2 separate regions of the Homo sapiens genome follow, and region 1 is linked to region 2. The links are contacts of gene promoters, found by promoter capture Hi-C in blood cells and fetal thymus (Javierre and others, 2016). All regions are on one chromosome and are shown on one strand. Each heading gives the region's core, a stretch centred on a gene start or on the middle of the fragment in contact. The rest is flanking DNA. Distances are from core to core; before and after follow the strand shown. Region 1 has its middle 31 kb from the start of RPL39. Region 2 holds the start of IL13RA1 (interleukin 13 receptor subunit alpha 1).

The links. The method cuts DNA at HindIII sites, captures the fragments that hold promoters and counts their contacts. A CHiCAGO score of 5 or more calls a contact.
Region 1: a fragment that was not itself captured here is called in contact with the fragment with the promoter of IL13RA1 in region 2 in 1 of 17 cell types (total B cells); the score reaches 5.5 in total B cells.

Annotation. Positions count from the first base shown.
Region 1 is chrX:119,820,784-119,823,483 of GRCh38, reverse strand. It overlaps a transcript of UPF3B not described here and the pseudogene LOC100422368. Among named protein-coding and RNA genes, the nearest start is that of RPL39, 31 kb to the right of the region's middle. The HindIII fragment of the contact is 207 bases long and covers 1,171-1,377 here.
Region 2 is chrX:118,726,340-118,729,039 of GRCh38, reverse strand. IL13RA1 (interleukin 13 receptor subunit alpha 1) reads right to left here and starts at 1,434. Exons shown (of 11, transcript NM_001560.3): 1 at 1,314-1,434. The coding sequence starts at 1,401. RefSeq lists a silencer at 1,396-1,825. The HindIII fragment of the contact is 2,975 bases long and covers 71-2,700 here.

The DNA.
Region 1 (2,700 bases), core at 25-2,524, 1.1 Mb before region 2:
GGAGGATCATTTAACTTCAGGAGTTCTAGAACAGCCTGGGCAACATAGGGCAACCCCGTCTCTGCTAAAATTTAAAAACCCAATGTGGTAGCACGGGCCTGCGATCCCAGCTACTAGGGAGCTGAGGTGGTAGGATTCCTTCAGTCTGGAATGTCGAAGCTGGATCATGCCACTTGCACTGCAGCCTGGCTGACACAGTGAGACCCTGTCTCCAAAGAAAATAAATTTAACCAGACATAAAAAATAATAATTAGGAAATGGTTGCTTTTCTTTGGAGATGGAGAGAGGAAGTGGGCAAGTTGTCATTTACCATGCCCTCATATATTTGGTCTTAAATGACTGGGCTTTAGTATATATTAATATATAAGGTATAACCTAAAAATCTCATGTAAAAGCTTAGTAGCATTGTTGTAACAGTAACATATTTCATTGTACTTCAGGACTGTCCATGGATGCAGTGTTACCATCGAGGAGCTCGAGGCCGAGGTCGACTCTGGCACCCTGATGACAAGTCTGGAGATTCAGCAGTAGAAAGAAAGCAGGAAAGTGGTATTAGCCATAGAAAAGAAGAGGAGAGGCCGGGCGTGGTGGCTCATGCCTGTAATCCCAGCATTTTGGGAGGCCGATATGGGTGGATCACCTGAGGTCAGGACTTTGAGACCAGCCTGGCCAACATGGTGAAACCCAGTCTCTACTAAAACTACAAAAATTAGCCGGGCTTGGTGGCAGGCGCCTGTAGTCCCAGGTACTCGAGAGGCTGAGGCAGGAGAATTGATTAAACTCAGGAGGTGGAGGTTGCAGTAAGCCATGATCGTGCCACTGCACTCTAGCCTGGGTGACACTAGGGAGGCTCTATCTCCAAAAAAATTAAAAAAAAATAAAGAGGAGAGGAGTACGCAGCAGAAGAGTAAGTTTTGTCTCAAAGAAGGAATCTGGTCGGAGGTTCAGAATTGGAAGTACAATTTTATTGTTTTTGCAATTTCTATAAATTAAAGTGTCAGAAAATGCTGATGGCGAGGACATGCATTGCAATTTGCAGGGGAAATGTCAAGTGAGGACTTCATCACGTGTGACACGAGAGAAAAGTAAGAGCTGGTTTTAAAATCAAAAGCTGTTGTTCATCCTGAATTGAATTTCTAAATTTTGGTGGAGCAGAGTCGCTTTGAAGCTTTATTCCCATCTATTTCTATTGCATTGCTAATGATAACTGTTGACTTTGGGTAGTGTAGAAGCAACAAGCATGTCCTTGTCTATAAGTACAGGGAAGGATAGAACAAACTTTCATTGATGCAAACATTTAAATAGTCATGTTACTTCTGTATCCAATGTCCTAACATTTTAGGGTTACTTTTGTTTTTTTATTTGCTTACATAAGCTTAGCATGAAGAATATTTTTAAACATCTCGTTTTGTCTCCAGCATTTTTTCTATTAAGAGGTAAAATGTAGTCCTTGTTGGATTCTTGACAATCTAGTTTGTTTTATCTCAGGTCTCATGATCTGGTGCCTACCCTCTCCAGGAAGGAAACTGCACCAATGTCTGTTGTTGTTACATATCAACTTTTAGTTTCAGTTTGTTTTGTTCTGATGTCAATACATAGTAACAGCAGTCAAGTATGAAGCTAAGTGTGGTGAGTAACTTTAGTAAACAGCTGTGAGGTTTTTTTTGTTTTTTTTGTTTTTTTTTTGAGACAGAGTTTCACTCTGTCACCCAGGCTGGAGTGCAGTGGCACAATCTCGGCTCACTGCAACCTCCACCCTCCGGGTTCAAATTATTCTCCTTCCTCAGCCTCCTGAGTAGCTGGGACTACAGGCACCTGCCACCGCGCCTGGTTAATTTTTTGTATTTTTAGTAGAGATGGGGGTCTCACCATCTTGGCCAGGCTGGTCTTGAACTCCTGACCTCGTGATCCACCGGCCTCAGCCTCCCAAAGTGCTGGGATTACAGGCGTGAGCCACCACGCCCAGCCAGCTGTGAGTTTTGAGAAATTAAATTTTTTATACTGTATTAGCCTCTTGGAAGTATCAAAAGCAGATGAATAATGTTAGTTTCTGCCTTCACAGGCATTGCCTTTGTTTTGTCCACCAGAGAAAGATCAGTTCATGGTTCACTCCTGTATTAGGCCGTTCTTGCATTGCTATAAATAAATGCCTGAGACTGGGTAGTTTATAAGAAAAGAGGTTTAACTGGTTCACAGTTCTGCAGGCTGTACAAGCATGGCATCTGACATTGCTCAGCTTCTGGGAGGCCTCAGGGACCTTTTACTCATGGCGGAAAGTGAAGCAGGAGCAGGCATGTCACATCACAGAGTGAGCAAGAGAGTGAGTGTGGGAAGGAGGTGCCACACTTTACAACAACCTGATCTGTAAGAACTCACTATGGAGAGGACAGCACCAAGCCATGAGGGATCCGCCCCATAACCCCAATACCCCACCAGGCCCCACCTACAACACTGGGGATTATATTTCCATGAGATTTGGGTGGGGACAAATTTCAAAACTACATCAACTGTTCTGGTCCCATAAGAACAAAATGTTTAGACAACATCCTTGAGCTTTTGCCTGATTTTCATTCATCCTGCCAGCCCTTCCTAACATGGCATCTGTTTGCCAGATGCCTGGGCTCAAACAATCTGTCCACTGTAGCCTCGAAAAGTGCTGGGATTATACGCATGAGCCACCGTGTCCAGCTTTATATGGAT
Region 2 (2,700 bases), core at 185-2,684:
AAGTCAACCTAGAGGGCCTGACTCAGTACTAAATAAGGCAGACACCTGAATAATTATTGACTGACAAGCTTCAAGTCTCCCTCAGGTCTCTACTCAAATGCCACCTTTCAGCAACATTTGTTTTCTTCTCGATCCACCCTTTTTACAATGGCAAACCCCTTCCCACCTGCTCTGTTTTTCTCTACTTAACACCCTCAGACATATCATATATTTTACCCCCACCCCCCGATATGTCTGAGGGCAGGCACCTCATCTGTTTTGCTCACTGCTGCATCCTCAGCCCCTAAACACTGCCTGGCAGCATGTATTTTATTGACTGAATCCATAGAGGGCATTAAGGTTTCCTAATCAACATTTCAACTTGGATTTCAAAGCACATTGGTAAAAATGCAATAAGCATATATAAGTGTTTGTGTCAATGTGATAATAAAACCTATACAGTTTGGGGCTTTCATTGTCACCAAAAACGTCCAGAAGGCCATTCCTTCCAGGAGCTGCTCCTAAGGAAGTCATTAACTCCCAATTTTTCACAACTGCCAGGTTGATTAACTAGAAGTTACCAAACAGGGTGAGGGATATACACAACTCTCTGAAGTATCTTTGCAACTTTTCCATAAATCTACAATTACCCTAAAATATAAGGTTTATTAAAGAGAGTGGGGTGGGGGGAGCATCTGCCGGGATGCTATTCTGGATTTCCCAAAGGATTTCTTCGACGCCAGAGGAGGTCATGAGCGTCACGTCCTTTTTCAACAAGGACTGAGATGTTTAGAGGTTCCCTTCAACTTCCACTCGCAAGAGCCACCCTTAGACAGTGAGGATTGGCGCGGCCTCGGGCAAAGAGCCCCGGCGCGTTCTCAGCTCGCCTGGACTTCGGTCGTGGTCCCCGCCGGCTCTGGCGCCTCATTTCCTCCCGGGCTCACAGGCGACATTCCGGGCGCTGACCCACGGCCCTCTGACGCCGTGGGCATGTTTCGGGCCCCCCGCCCCCGCACGCCTGGACGCCAGCCTCCTGGGCTCTTCCCACTACAAGTCGCAGCCCTCTTACTTCGCTGCCGCCACCTCCGCCGCACCCGGAGTTCGGGAAAACCCCGCAGCTCCCGGGTCCCACCTCGAACCGGCCCCAGTACCGGGCCCCAGAGATCCCGCGCGGGAAGCCGCAGCCGCCGAGCGCGGGGCCTCGCGAGGGCAGCCCCCAGCACCCACCCCAGCTTCGGCCCTCCGCCCGGCGTTGACCTCCGGGGCCTTTCAGCCGTGACCCTCACCGCCCTCAGCCCTCCGGCCGCCCCTCGGGCCCCGAGGGTCGCACTCACCCGTAGGCGCGGCGCCCCCGCCCCCGCCCCCGCCGCCGGCGCAGAGCAGCAGCGCCCACAGCCCGCAGAGCCGCGCCGGCCACTCCATGCAGCCTCTCGCCTCGGAGCCCGGCCGGGCTGGAGCCTTGGCAGTCCCCGCCTCCTTCGCTCCCTCTTCCACTTCCCGGCTCCGCCGCCCTGGAGGCTGGGGGCCGGCGCAGACGGGAAGGGCCGCCCCGCCCACCGGCCTCAGGTAACCTGAGCCGGCGAGAGCGGCCGGAGGAGGCGGGGCGGGGCGCCGGCGGCTCTGGCGGCTCTGGCGGCTCCTACGGCTCCCAAGGCTGGACACCTGGCCCACCCGCAGCTCCCGCGTCCGGTCTCTGACCGAACAAAACTTCTTCCACCACGTCGCCGCCCACTCCGGGCGCTGCCTGGGCCTCCTCCCTCCGCGTGGCGGAGCCGGCGTCGCCGCTGCCAGCACACTTGCGGGGCCTCGGAGGTGCTAGGGGCTGTGCCCTGCTGGACACCAGGACAGAGTCATCTGCGGAAAAGAGCCTTGGCCTGGGAGTCTGGAGACCTGGCTTCCAGCCCTTGACCTCTGAGCCCTTGTTTGCTAGCGCTGACTCCAGGGTTAGTAATACCAGCCCTACTTCACTGGGTGGAGTTGGGGACACTGGCAGTACTGTGCTTTGTGAAAAGGACAAAGGGCATATTTGAAAGCTGGCAATACATAATGTTGATTTTAAAAGGAACATTCCAAACATGAGGGAGGATACCATACGTGCATTTTTTAAAGCACACGACAAACTTTCTACATATTTTTCAAAGGGATGGGAGGTGAATCGGAAGAATACACATTGATACTTGGGCGCCTATGAGGGTCAGTGAGGCTGGGAGGAAGGAAAACAAGAGTCCTTAGGCGTTTCCTGTTGCTGCTGTCAAAAATGACCACAAATTTAGTGATTTAACAGTTTTATTTTATTACAGTTCTGGAGGTCAGAAGTGACACTGAGCTTAAATCAAGGTGTGGGCAGAGATGTATTCCTTCTGGATATTCTAGGGGAGAATCTGTGTCTTTGACTTTTCCAGCTTCTAGAGGCTACCCACATTCCTTGGCTTGTTGCGGAACTACTCAGACCTCTGCTTCCCTTGTCGTATCTGACTCTGACCCTCTTACTTCCCCTTTTCCCTTATAAATACCCTTGTGATTAGATTAGGTCCACCAGATAATTCATAATAATCTCCCCATCTCAAAATCCTTGATTTAATCATAACTGAAAAGTCATTTTTGCTATGTAAGTTAACATATTCACAGGTGTTGGGGATCACGATATGGAATCATGGGAGGGGGACATTATTCTATCACCTTCTCCCAAAAAAGAATCATGTCTAGGTGGATGATGAGACC